Linked DNA regions of Homo sapiens: all the other regions are linked to region 5. Evidence: promoter capture Hi-C in 16 types of primary human blood cells and fetal thymus (Javierre and others, 2016). All regions are on one chromosome and are shown on one strand. The core of a region is centred on a gene start or on the middle of the fragment in contact, and the rest is flanking DNA. Distances in the headings are between cores, read along the strand shown. Region 1 holds the start of NOS2 (nitric oxide synthase 2). Region 2 overlaps NOS2 (nitric oxide synthase 2). Region 3 has its middle 25 kb from the start of LINC01992. Region 4 has its middle 21 kb from the start of NOS2. Region 5 holds the start of LYRM9 (LYR motif containing 9).

Region 1 (2,700 bases), core at 154-2,653, 93 kb after region 5:
GCTGAAGCCTGAAGGGAAGATGGCTTTGATATGTTAAAACTCATTCCAGTTTACTCCTATTTTTCATTCATTCATCCACACATTCACTCAACAAAGATCCTTGAGCTCTGATATCCATGTCTTTTTTGTGGCTCTTAGTTTATCTTTGACAAAGTTAATATATTATGCTGAATTTAACTTGGGAAAGACAAGAAGGAAATGAGTGGACAGTGGTAGCAAAGTGTTGGGACGGTGAGATCAAGGGTGACTTTTTTTCCCTTTGCTTCTCAACTTCTCCCTAATGTAGTTGTTATTTTACTTTTATGATGGAAAAATGCATATGTATGGGAATACTGTATTTCAGGCATTATAAGGAATGAAATTATAGGCCGGGCATGGTGGCTAACCCTTGTAATCCTAGCACTTTGAGAGGCTGAAGTGGGCAGATCACTTGAGCTTCAGAGTTCGAGACCAGCATGGACAACATGGTGAAACCCAGTCTCTACCAAAAACACAAAAATATTAGCTGGGTGTGGTGGTGCATGCCTGTAGTCCCAGCTACTCAGGAGGCTGAGGTGGGAGGATCGCTTGAGCCTGGGAGGCAGAAGTTGCAATGAGCAGAGATCGTGCCACTCCGCTCCAGTCTTGGTGACAGAATGAGACTCCATCTCAAAAATAAATAAATAAATAAAATAAATGAAATGAAATTATAAGAAATTACCACTTTTTCATGTAAGAAGTGATCATTTCCATTATAAGGGAAGGAATTTAATCCTACCTGCCATTCCACCAAAGCTTACCTAGTGCTAAAGGATGAGGTGTTAGTAAGACCAACATCTCAGAGGCCTCTCTGTGCCAATAGCCTTCCTTCCTTTCCCTTCCAAAAACCTCAAGTGACTAGTTCAGAGGCCTGTCTGGAATAATGGCATCATCTAATATCACTGGCCTTCTGGAACCTGGGCATTTTCCAGTGTGTTCCATACTGTCAATATTCCCCCAGCTTCCTGGACTCCTGTCACAAGCTGGAAAAGTGAGAGGATGGACAGGGATTAACCAGAGAGCTCCCTGCTGAGGAAAAAATCTCCCAGATGCTGAAAGTGAGGCCATGTGGCTTGGCCAAATAAAACCTGGCTCCGTGGTGCCTCTATCTTAGCAGCCACCCTGCTGATGAACTGCCACCTTGGACTTGGGACCAGAAAGAGGTGGGTTGGGTGAAGAGGCACCACACAGAGTGATGTAACAGCAAGATCAGGTCACCCACAGGCCCTGGCAGTCACAGTCATAAATTAGCTAACTGTACACAAGCTGGGGACACTCCCTTTGGAAACCAAAAAAAAAAAAAAAAAAAAGAGACCTTTATGCAAAAACAACTCTCTGGATGGCATGGGGTGAGTATAAATACTTCTTGGCTGCCAGTGTGTTCATAACTTTGTAGCGAGTCGAAAACTGAGGCTCCGGCCGCAGAGAACTCAGCCTCATTCCTGCTTTAAAATCTCTCGGCCACCTTTGATGAGGGGACTGGGCAGTTCTAGACAGTCCCGAAGTTCTCAAGGCACAGGTCTCTTCCTGGTTTGACTGTCCTTACCCCGGGGAGGCAGTGCAGCCAGCTGCAAGGTGAGTTGCCTTCATTTCTGGGGAAGCGGCTGTTTTGAGAGGGTTTTGTTTCTTCCTCTTTGAGAAGGCTCAGAAAATTGTGGGAATTTTCTGCCTACAGAGAGAAGGTGTTGGAAAGTCTAGGTAAAAAAATGCCGACATGAGGTTTGGTCATTTGAACATGGCATCTTGGTCAGATTTCTTTTCTGCAAATATTAGCTGTGGTTGTTACATGACAAGGAAAAACTTTCTGAAAAGTTCAAAATGGGAGTTTGTATCTGCTAAGAATTTTTTTTAACAGAGATTATCTTATCAGTCCTTATAACATGTAACCTCCCCACAAATCCTGGTAAGATGGATATATTAAACCCATTTTATGGATGAATAAATGAGTTTCAGTTAAATAACTTGATCCAGGACACATAACTGGTAGAGCTAGGATTCCAGGATTTGAACCCAGGTCTATGGGGCTATAAGTTCTTTTCTTTCTTTCCCTCTTTCCTTCCTTTCCTTCCTGTCCTTTCCTCCCTTCCCCTCCCTTCCCTTCCCTTTCTTTCTTTTTTTTTTTTGGAAACAGCCTTGACTGCCCAGCCTCAAGCAATCCTTCTGCCTCAGCCTCCCGAGTAGCTGGGACTACAGGCACAAGACACCATGCCTGCCTGGCTAATTTTTCAATTTTTTGTAGTCAAGGTCTCCCTATGTTGCCCAGGCTGAACTCGAACTCTTGGACTCAAGCGATCCTCCTGCCTCGGTCTCCCGAAATGCTGGGATTACAGGCGTGAGCCACTGCACTTGGCCTAAAATTCTTACATGGACTATATTCACTACACTGTCTTCTAAAGACAGAGTTTTTGCCTCTTTGATCTTCCTCTTGTCTGTTTCAAAGGAGATGATCTCAGATTTCGAGGGATGAGTGCATTTTTCACAAATATTTCCTCCCCACATAATAAAAGAGGAGCAAGTAATAATGCTGAGTTAGAACAACAACTGCAAAATCTTTAAAAGAAAGGTAGCTACAGCTTGAGTGCTTTCCCCAGTAATAGACCTAAAACTACAGTTGATAATGAGAGCTGCTGGGAAGTGTCTTTCAGGGTCAGGCAAAGGCACCCCTGTTTCAACGACCTCCGG
Region 2 (2,700 bases), core at 27-2,526, 110 kb after region 5:
AAAATGATTAAGAATTTCAAGATGGGGACAGCAGAGCATTGAGCGTGGGGTGCTTCTAGGCTAAGTGTGAGGTCCCCAAAGCCAGCCCTGGAGGGAGCTGTCTCTGGTGAGAGGCATCTTGCCCTTCTGATGTCCTATTTCAGTTCCTGCTTCTGTGGATTGAATTAATCCCCATGTAAGGCCATCTCATTGTTGATCTTCCTGCTGTCTTCCTGTCCCCCAGGGCAAAAATAGAGGAACATCTGGCCAGGGTGGAAGCGGTAACAAAGGAGATAGAAACAACAGGAACCTACCAACTGACGGGAGATGAGCTCATCTTCGCCACCAAGCAGGCCTGGCGCAATGCCCCACGCTGCATTGGGAGGATCCAGTGGTCCAACCTGCAGGTGAACTTCCTTAGACTTGAGCGGGAGAGAGCTGGAGGCGGCCAGGCCCTGAGCAGATGGCTTGGAACAGCCACACAGAGCTGTGCCCAGGCCTCCTGGGACTGAAGCCATGGCCCTGGATCCTCTCTTACATTCCCAAATGTTGAGATGGGGCACCTAGGGTCCCTCTCTAGAAGCCTTGAATCCTGTTTCAGCACCAGGGTTTCTAGCTGCCCATTCTCTATTGTGTTAAATTCAGGAGACTAAATGCCATCATTAGAGTAAACCACGACCTTGTTTTTATTACACTTGAGGCCGTGGTGCTGCAAGATGTGTTGTTTTCCTCCAATGCTTGAATTCTTGGCTCCAAGAGAACATTTTATTTAGCCTAGCCTCCTAGGCCATCTTTTTGTTGGGGAGTCATTTGTTGCAGGATAATATCAAAAGCACTTGGACAGAGAAATCGATTAGAACTGCCAGTGAAACCAACTCTGGCTGTGTAGTATGTGCTGGTGTGGGAAAGGACCTAGCCTGGGGCTGTGGCAATCCCGATTCATGGTGCTTTCAAGTCAGGTTTTCTTGGAATTCTGGGTTTGCTGGGGTCTTCTGAGTGGGGTTGCCTGTGCTCCCCTAGAGGGCAGCCATGAAATGGGAGCGGTGGTGCAGATGGGAGGCTGAATTCTTCTGCATGGTGTTGAGTGGCAGGTGCAGATTGGAGGCTGCACTCTTCGGCATGGTGTTGAGTGTTTGTGTGTTGAGTGTTTCGGCTGCACTATTGATTCCCAGTGACTTCTGATCAGCCTCAAAGCCTCTGTCTACCCAGTCTTTGATGGGCATGGTCTGGATGGGCTGTTGCAGGTCTTCGATGCCCGCAGCTGTTCCACTGCCCGGGAAATGTTTGAACACATCTGCAGACACGTGCGTTACTCCACCAACAATGGCAACATCAGGTCGGTGCACATTTCCCAGGGCTGCAGAGGGGCTTGCCTTGCCTGAGAATCTTAGCCAAAAGATGCAGCACTTGGGTCTAGGGGAGGCATCTCCAGCTCCAGGAGAAACCAGGGAGAAAGAAAAAAGAGAAAGACTCAGGCTTCTTCGGGGACTTCCAGTAGTGAGCCCAGCCCCTGTGAGCTCAGCTCCCATCGGCAACCCATGCCCTTGGTTTCCTTCTGATGTGGAGCCACTTGGAGGGGATGGAGGATCTTTAAGAAGTAACTGCTTCACTATTCAGGGTTGGGGCTCCCATTTTTTAGAAGGCATGGGACATTAAGAGGTTACCTTCCTCTCCCAACCAACGAGGTCAAAGCTAATAGGACTGAACAGCTCATTTGGTCATTCATTCATCTTTTTGTTCAGCAAACACTCAGTGCCTACCTAATGCAACTCAACACAGGACAAGGCTGGGAGAGCAGGGGGAAGATGGGGTATGGGGGGGTAGGAGGAAGAGTGACTAGGACCCTAAGATGCTGCTCCAGCTGGTGTGAGCCTATGACCTGCACTAGACAGGCAACCAGCTAACTCAACTGCAAGGACGGAGACATAGGCAGTGAGGGAAAGACTGGCAGATCAGCTAACCCTGCCTGATGGATGGGAAGGCCCCCTTGAGGGGGTGGACCCTGGGTCTTGAGGGAGGGCAGCAGGAGAAGGCATGTCAGGAGGCTGGCTCAGTCAGCTTGGGATCAGGGGCTGCAGAGCAGGTAGGGTGGAGAGGGAGGTAGGGCCAGTGCAGGATGGCTGGGCCCCCACCAGGGCTAGGTGGTAAACAGTACTGTTCCTGTCCTGGGAAGGTCGGCCATCACCGTGTTCCCCCAGCGGAGTGATGGCAAGCACGACTTCCGGGTGTGGAATGCTCAGCTCATCCGCTATGCTGGCTACCAGATGCCAGATGGCAGCATCAGAGGGGACCCTGCCAACGTGGAATTCACTCAGGTACCCGGCCCAGCCTCAGCCACCGGCCATTGGGGCGGGGAGCCCCGTGGTGAGCGAGTGACAGAGTGGAGCCCAGAGGAGACACGCAGCCCGGGCTTACAGACTCACAGGGCCCGTCTTGTTCCCCAGCTGTGCATCGACCTGGGCTGGAAGCCCAAGTACGGCCGCTTCGATGTGGTCCCCCTGGTCCTGCAGGCCAATGGCCGTGACCCTGAGCTCTTCGAAATCCCACCTGACCTTGTGCTTGAGGTGGCCATGGAACATCCCAAGTAAGTAGGCTGAGGGTGCTGGGGGCAAGGGCGAGTCAACACACAGCCCTTCTCCTTTCCTAAGTGCGGCTCCAGCCTTCCCCATACCTTCCCTAAAGCCCAGCCAGCAGCAGGTGACACTCAGGGGGCTGGCCTTC
Region 3 (2,718 bases), core at 201-2,700, 120 kb before region 5:
CACCTCAGCCTCTCGAATAGCTGGGACCACAGGTGGGCACCACCACACCTGGTTAATTTTTGTATTTTTTGTAGAGGCAGTTTTCGCCATGTTGCCCAGGCTGTGCCTGATGGATTTTTTTTGAAATGAATACCTTAAATTTACTCATTTGCCCAGTTGCAAGATTCTCCAAGGCTTTATTTATGCTGGCGTAGCCAGCATCTTTTTAAAAAATGACATTTATATATACTCACTTAGGTAAATTAATGTACCCATCTCAACTGTTCCCTTTGGCTACACGGACAAACTCATATTCCAAAGAATATGACCCTAAAACTGAAAAGATGCAACAACGCTTCAGGCTTTGTGCTGATACATTTGTTAGAAACATTGGATGAGATGATACAGAGCATTTTACACCGTGCCTGACACATAATTGGCACTCAATACATATTAGCTATTGTTATTGAGAAGTACTAGGTCTTTTCTTCTTACATTTCTTGGCATTTGTTAAGTCATGACATTGTGCCAGAGATTACATGGATGGAAAGGTAAAGTGTAAGGAGTAAGGAGATGGGGTGAGAGGCATTTCATGATTTGTCAAATTTTGAATAAAGGAACCTCACTTCTTACAAAAATAAAAAGTACTGGAAATGCAGTAGTAAGTAAAGAACAAGGATGTACACCTGAAGGTAATATTATAAATCAGGAATATAGGAAAAACCACCTGGACCTGGCCTGGCTTTTTTTTTTTTTTCAGGTTCTCACTCTGTTGCCCAGGCTGGACTGCAGTGGCATAATCTTGGCAGCCTTGACCTCCCAGGCTCAGATGATCCTCCCATCTCAGCCTCCTGAGTAGCTGGGACTACAGACACACCCACTATGTCTGGCTGGCCTTGCATTTTGATTTGTTAAAAAATATTTAGTGATAACTTACTATGTGCCAGGCATTGTGTTAGGCATGAGGATACAACAGTTAATAGACAGATTTGGTTCTTACCCTCATGGAGTTTGCTGTCTACTGAGGGACACAACAGTTAATAAAGTAAACATTTCTAGCCATTGAAACTATAAATAATAACAATAAACAAATAAACAAATGGATATGCAATTATAAATTGTGGTAAACAATAACCATCTCTAACAGACAATTCAAACTCGATTTGTCCAAATTAAGTTCTTTTTTCCCTTGTGCCTTGTCCAGTGTTCTCCATCTCAGTAAATGACACCATCATTCACCAATTACTTAGGTCAAAAACCTTGAAGTGATCCTTGACTCAGAATTTTCCCATATCTCAGTCAATCTTGTCTTTTGGCTGTACCTTCCAAAGTTATCCTGAATTCAACCTCTTCTTGCCATTCCTGAGACTACCCTATTGCCCAAGGCATCATCATCTCTCACCAGGAATATACAATGCATCTTGCTGCTTTTAACCTTTCTCCTGTGAGGACTCTTCTCTGCACACCAGTAAGAATGATCCTTTTTAGCATTCTCCCCAGATATATAATGCCCAGGAATAAGTTTAACCAAGGTGATGAAAGACTTGTACACTGAAAACTATAAAAGCATTGCTGAAAAAATTTAAGGAAGACCTATAGAAACGGAAAGACATTCCTTGTTCATAGGTTGGAGACTTAATATTATTTAGATGGCAGTAAAGCCCGAAGTGATTTACATACTCAATGCAATCCCTATCATAATTTTAAAGACTTTTTTGCAGAAATGGAAAAGCCAATCCTCAGATTAAAATGTAATTGCAAAGGACCTCAAATAGTCAAAATGATATTGAAGGAAAAGAACAATGTTGGAAGAGTTATACTTCCCAATTTCAAAACTTACTACAAAGGTACACTAATTAAAACTGTATGGTACTGGCATAAGGATAGAGATATAGAAGAGAATTGAAAGTCCAGAAATAAACTCACACGTTTATGGTGCTGATTTTTGACAAGGACACCAAGTCCATGCAATATAGAAAGAATAATCTCTTCAACAAATGGTGCTGGGACAATTGGATAACCACATACAAAAAAATTAAGTTGGATACCTACTTCATACCATAAGCAAAAATTACCTTAAAATGCATTAATGACATAAATACAAGAGTTAAAACCACAGAACTCTTAGAAGAAAACAAAGATAAATCTTCATGATCTCGGATTTGGCAATGAATTCTTACATAGAACACCAAAAGTATGAGCAATAAACAAATAAATTTTGTGCCTCAAAGGATAGTTTTAGAAAGTAAAATGACAACTTACAGAATGGTCAAAAATATTTGTAAATTATATATTTGGTAAGGGTCTACTATCTGGACTATAAAGAACTCTTACAACTCAACAATAAAAAGACAAACAACCCAACTTTAAAGTTGGCAAAAAGTGCAGGGCAGGGTCGCATGTGCTTGTAGCCCCAGCTACTCAGGAGAAGAATTGCTTCAGCCTAGGAGTTCAAGTGTAGACCAGGTAATATTGCAAGATCCAGGCTCTAAGAATAAATAATTATTTTTTTTAAATGGGAAAAAACTTGAATAGACATTTCTCCAAAGAGAATGTACAAATGGCCAACAAGCACATAAAAATACTAAGCATCATTAGTTATTAGGGCATGACACCTACTAAGAGGGCTATAATTAAGAAAAGATAGATAATAGTAAGTGTTGATCAGGATGTGAAGTAATTGGAACCCTCTTATATCGCTGGTGGGAATGTAAAATGGTTCAGCCATGGTGGAAAACA
Region 4 (2,700 bases), core at 73-2,572, 72 kb after region 5:
CCCTGCAAATGCCAACCTCATAGCATATTAATAAGAAACAGATGTTGTGGGAAGTCAGGGACCCTGAACAGAGGGACTGGCTGAAGCCATGGCAAAAGAACATAAATTGTGAAGATTTCATGGACATTTATTAGTTCCTCGAATTAATACTTTTATAATTTTTTACACCTGTCTTTACTGCAATCTCTGAACAAAAATTGCAAAGATTTCATGGACATTTATCACTTCCCCAATCAATACTCTTGTGATTTCCTATGCCTGTCTTTACTTTAATCTTTTAATCCCATCATCTTCGTAAGCTGAGGATGTATGTTGCCTCGGGACCCTGTGATGATTGCGTTAACTTCACAAATTGTTCATAAAGCATGTGTGTTTAAACAATATGAAATCTGGGCACCTTGAAAAAAGAACAGGATAACAGCGATGCTCAGGGAACAAGGGAGATAACCATTAGGTCTGACTGCCTGAGAGCCAGGCAGAACAGAGCCATATTTCTCTTCTTACAAAAGCGAATAGGAGAAATATCGCTGAATTCTTTTTCTCAGCAAGGAACAGCCCTGAGAAAGAGACACATTCCTAGGGGGAGGTCTCTAAAATGGCTGCTCTAGGAATGTCTGTCTTATACGGTTGTGGATAAGCGATGAAATAAGCCCCGGTCTCCCGTAGCGCTCCCAGGCCTATTAGGACGAGGAAATTCCTGCCTAGTAAATTTTAGTCAGACTGGTTGTCTGCTCTCAAGCGCTGTCTCCTGATAAGGTGTTATCAATGACAATGCGTGCCCAAAACTTCATTAGCAATTTAAATTTTGCCCTGGTCCTGTGATCTCGCTCTGCCCCCATTTGCCTTATGATATTTTATTGCCTTGTGAAGCATGTGATCTCTGTGACCCACACCCTATTCATACACTCCCTCCCCTTTGAAAATCACTAATAAAAACTTAATGGTTTTGCGGCCTGGGGGCCATCACAGAACCTGCCGACATGTGATGTCTCCCCTGGACACCCAGCTTTAAAATTTCTCTCTTTTGTACTCTTTCCCTTTATTTCTCAGACTGGCTGACACTTAGGGAAATAGAAGAGAACTTACGTTGAAATATTGGGGGTGGTTCCCTTGATAAACAGATATTTTACCAACTCTTTGGTGGAGAGGTAGGAAACAGGTTTTCCATGACACACCACATGGCCAGACTTCATCAAGGCCACCTCATCGCCTGCTCTCCCTCAGCCTCACTCACCTCCTCTTCCGCTACATCTTCCTCTTAGCTCTCTCCTGCTTCCCTTTCTGGTCAAGAGCAATTTCACCCTCTTGCCTTCTCCCCTTTGCCTCCTCATGCCCACTCCCTCAGCCTGCACAGAGCGTTTCTCCAGTGTAGTCTCTGGTCCATCTGCATCAAAATCACCTGCAGGACTTGCTGACAATGCAGTTTCCTGGATCCCACCCAGGACTCAAAAAAACTAGGAATTGGGAGAAGAGGGACCTGGAATCGGTGTTGCTAGCAAGCCCCCAGGTGGTTTGTAAGTGGACTAAAGTTTGAGGACCAGACATGGAAGGTTGGCTTTGGCACCATCAGCTGGATCCAGGAATTTGGAGCCAGGTTGATGGGGTCAAGTGGTATTATACGTGGTGGCCTGTGGGTAGGAAAGCCACCATCTGGGGGTGCTCTATTCAGAAAGGGACTGTGACATGGCCCTACTATTACTGCGTCCAATCTCTGGGGTGAAGGAGGAAACTGCATCACTCTGCTTTGCATGTGGCAGGCCCTGCTTGGAGGCCAGCAATTGATCCCCTTTTCAAAAATTAGGGTAGAAGTGATATGCAGTGCACAAAATCTAATTGTGCAGCTTGATTGATTTTGACATAATTATACTCCTGTTGAACCACTGCCCCCATCAAGATCTACAGCATAGGCTTCCTTGAGCCCCTTCCTCATACCTCCCTGCCACTACTGTAACTACTATTCTGACCTCTATCACCATGGATTAATTTTGTTTGTTTTTGGACTTTGTGTAAATGGAATCACACGGGCTGTACTCTTTTGTATTTGGCTTCTTATTTTTTGAGGCAGAGTCTCACTCTGTCTCCCAGGCTGGAGTGCAGTGGCACAATCTCAGCTCACTGCAACCTACACCTCCTGTGTTCAAGTGATTCTCCTGCCTTGGCCCCCCAAAATGCTGGGATGACAGGCACGAGCCACCATGCCCAACCATATTTGGCTTCTTTTACCCCACATTATGTCTGTGAGATCCATCCATGTTTTTGCACATAATAGAGAGTCTGTCTTTTTCATTGCTGTTTACCAGCGGTCAGCAAACTATTTCTGCAAAGAACCAGATAATAAATACCTTTGGTTATGAAAGCTATAGTCTCTGTCACAACTATTCAACCCTGCCATCATAGCTCAAATGCAGTAATAAGCAACACACAAACAAAAAGTAGGCTACAGTTTGGCCTGTGGGTCACAGTTCACCAATCTCTGCTGTACAATATTTTGTTATAAATAATCATGAATATACGACATGGAAGAATGAGTTATGATGAGAATTAGAAATAATTATGAATAAAGCACTATGTATTCAGTTACCCATTCTCCTGTTATGGGTATCTGGGTTATTTCCAGTCTGGGATGCAATGATTAGTGCTGCACTGTGTTTGGTGAACATATTATGCACACATTTTGTGCTATTGTCTTAGTAGTTACTG
Region 5 (2,700 bases), core at 126-2,625:
AATACAGCTATCTAGGAACAAAAGGGAGATGAGACTACAGAACAGACTGTGAAATTTCTTAAAATTATTAAATGATCCTAAGACTGAGCACAGGAGTGGATGATGTTACTGCAGATTGTTCTTAATAAGGGCTTTAAAAGCTTAATGATTTATTGATTGGCTCTGCATTAATGACGTGCCCTTGATTATGCATGTGTAAATAAGAGGGCTGATTTATGAGGGTACAATTGTATCTTTCAGATATATTTGTCCAAGTCTACATCTTTAAAATAAATGGAAGCAATTATCTGAATATTTCAAGGGAGGGAACCCCACCTTCCCATCCCCCACCCCCGATTTGAGGGAAGTCTAGTATGTTAGGTGAAGAGAAAAAAAAAGAAAAGAGGAAGCTCTAAAGGGAGTTAGGAACAAAACAAAACTTCCGTTAAGAAATATCCCTGCTTCTCTTATCCTAAGAGAAGAAAAACAGATTCCCAGGTGCCACCGGGGAGCAATGTTTTACTTAAAAAAAAAAAAAGAAAAAGGAAAAAGAAAAACCTGTAAGAAGTTGTCCTGTTAAATCAACGACACATGGAGTCTGAAGGAAATCAGCCTTTTCGTTACAAACAGGTTTAAAAAGCCCTGGAGAAGAGAGACGTGAACAGAAGCAATATTATCCACTAACAACCTAACTCCCGCTTAGACATCAGCTGAGAGATCAGCAGCATCATTGAACAGGGGGGTTTGTCTTAAGATAATGACTCATCTTGATTTCTTTCAGGATATAAAACTTGTATTTAAATCAATTCAGAGAAGCACTTGAGCTTTAAACATTAGAGAGCAGGGAGAGCCTATTTAATAAACAGCATTATTTCATTTTCAAAGAATGATACTGGCAGTAGCTCTAAGTTTAAATTTTGTATTATTTTCCTCAATTATAATTATAGATGGGTCTGAAAGGAAGCATGCTTATTACTGTCATATTTATTCTTTTGACAGGTGTTATGGGACTGTAATTTGGTGAAATGATTCAAAACGCAGATTCCTATCCAAACACAATTCTTGTCATCAACACGAGAGGTTCAGGAAAAGTCCTCCAGCAAGCCTTTCAGAGATCTTGAACACCCCATATTCATAGCACAATCCATATTCAGGAATAAGGAGGAGAGAGTGCCTTTAGGGCTTATATCCGGCGTAGCAACAGCCAGAAGGCAGAGTGGGTGTTTGAGGTAACAGGTAACGAAGGCTGTTAGTGGGGACAGCTTTCAACTGGGTGGGGTCGGATCTAGGAAGAGGCACCCAGTAGGACCCCGAGTCCCGCGCGCGGCCGGCAGAGGGCGCTGGGCTCACCGTCGCCGGGCAGGGGCGGTGCCGCTCAGTCCCCGGGGCGCAGGCGCACTCGTCGCCGCGGCGGCGTCCGGGGCTGGCGTTCCCCTGGAGGCTGGTGAGCCGCGCTGCGCAGGCCGAGGCCGAGGGCGGGGGCGCGGGGGCAGCGGCGGCCGGAGCCACTGGGTGGCGGGGGCGGGCTAGGGATGTGGAGGCCTCGGGTGTCCTCGGATCTATTGAAGACCTAGGGGCGACCCGCGCCGGCACCTTTTCCCTTGCGGTCTGCGCTCTTCCACCGGAGAGCTGAGTGCACCGGAGCGCGGCGCCCGGGCTTGACGCAGGCCTGGCCGGGCGGCCTCGGAGGAGCAGGAAAGGCCTGCAGCGCGAGCTAGGGGCGCGAGGTCCGGGGCAGCCCGGAGGCCAGCCTCTCAGAGGCTCACGGGCCTGGCCACTTTTAAAAGGAGAATGTCCCCTCCACCGTCCCTCTGCCCGCGGCACCCGGTGGCCGGAGCAACCTTGTCGTGATGATTTATGCTTCTGCGTAAGAGCAAGTTGCTCCGTGGCCAAAACCCTTTCGCTCCTAGGATTGATCCTTTTTGTGGTTATTGTTTTAAAAAGTTTTATTGAGATATAATTCACGAAGCATACAGTTCACCCATCTAAAGTGCACAATTCAGTGTCTTTTAGTGTGTTTGCAGAGTTGTGCAGCTGTCACCATAATGTTTTAGAACATTACCCCCCAAAAGAAACACCTCCTTTAGCTGTCACTCCCCCCTCCCATCTACTCCCATTCTCCCAGCCCTAGGCAACCACCAATGTACTTCTGTCTCTGTACTTTTGCCTATTCTGGATGTTTCGTATAAATGGAATCATACATTAAGTAGCCCCTTGTGACTGGGTTTGTTCACTTAGCGTAATGTTTTCTGGGTTCACCTGCCATAGGTTCTTGACTTCAGGACAGTTTCCTGCTGGCTTTAGTTTCCTCTGGTAACTTGGGAATCAATTGACATCTATGGAACTTCTGTTATGGTTCAGGTACTATAAACTGTGGAGGAGTGACTAATAACCGTATATATATTTTTCTTACTAATTTCCCTTCATTTCACAGGTGTTGAACTAATACAGTATAGTTTCTTGTTCTTCAGAAGCTTACAGTCAGCAAGGAACAGAAAGCCAAATAAAGTAGGAAAGGGTAAGATGTTCAACGCTGGGCGCAGTGGCTCATGCCCATAATCTCAGCACCGTAGGAGGCTGAGGAAAGAGGATCACTTGAGCCTAGAATTTTGAGACCAGCCTGGGCAACATAGTAAGACTTCGTTTCTATAAATAATTAAAAAAATTAGCCAGACGTGGTGGCGTGTGCCTGTGATCCCGGCCACTTGAGAGGCTGAGGTA

The links. Contacts are between HindIII fragments. The CHiCAGO score rates a contact against its expected background, and 5 or more counts as called.
Region 1: a contact is called between the fragment with the promoter of NOS2 here and the fragment with the promoter of LYRM9 in region 5, in 10 of 17 cell types (naive CD4 T cells, total CD8 T cells, non-activated CD4 T cells and 7 more). The highest score is 13.1, in naive CD4 T cells.
Region 2: a fragment that was not itself captured here is called in contact with the fragment with the promoter of LYRM9 in region 5 in 3 of 17 cell types (activated CD4 T cells, M2 macrophages and total CD4 T cells); the score reaches 5.3 in activated CD4 T cells.
Region 3: a contact is called between a fragment that was not itself captured here and the fragment with the promoter of LYRM9 in region 5, in 2 of 17 cell types (megakaryocytes and M2 macrophages). The highest score is 6.2, in megakaryocytes.
Region 4: a contact is called between a fragment that was not itself captured here and the fragment with the promoter of LYRM9 in region 5, in 1 of 17 cell types (non-activated CD4 T cells). The highest score is 5.2, in non-activated CD4 T cells.

What each region holds. Positions count from the first base shown.
Region 1 is chr17:27,799,232-27,801,931 of GRCh38, reverse strand. NOS2 (nitric oxide synthase 2) reads left to right here and starts at 1,403. Exons shown (of 27, transcript NM_000625.4): 1 at 1,403-1,593. RefSeq lists a cis regulatory region at 866-888, an enhancer at 1,201-1,229 and promoters at 1-1,439, 1,198-1,490, 373-1,490, 1-1,570. The HindIII fragment of the contact is 2,695 bases long and covers 777-2,700 here.
Region 2 is chr17:27,780,630-27,783,329 of GRCh38, reverse strand. It overlaps NOS2 (nitric oxide synthase 2), which reads left to right. Exons shown (of 27, transcript NM_000625.4): 6 at 224-386; 7 at 1,224-1,315; 8 at 2,153-2,294; 9 at 2,424-2,563. Among named protein-coding and RNA genes, the nearest start is that of NOS2, 19 kb to the left of the region's middle. RefSeq lists an enhancer at 1-323. The HindIII fragment of the contact is 4,802 bases long and covers 1-2,700 here.
Region 3 is chr17:28,014,908-28,017,625 of GRCh38, reverse strand. No RefSeq gene overlaps it. Among named protein-coding and RNA genes, the nearest start is that of LINC01992, 25 kb to the right of the region's middle. The HindIII fragment of the contact is 4,504 bases long and covers 1-2,718 here.
Region 4 is chr17:27,820,233-27,822,932 of GRCh38, reverse strand. No RefSeq gene overlaps it. Among named protein-coding and RNA genes, the nearest start is that of NOS2, 21 kb to the right of the region's middle. The HindIII fragment of the contact is 4,429 bases long and covers 1-2,700 here.
Region 5 is chr17:27,892,040-27,894,739 of GRCh38, reverse strand. It overlaps LYRM9 (LYR motif containing 9), which reads left to right and starts at 1,375. Exons shown (of 4, transcript NM_001076680.3): 1 at 1,375-1,423. RefSeq lists a silencer at 1,194-1,743. The HindIII fragment of the contact is 2,313 bases long and covers 143-2,455 here.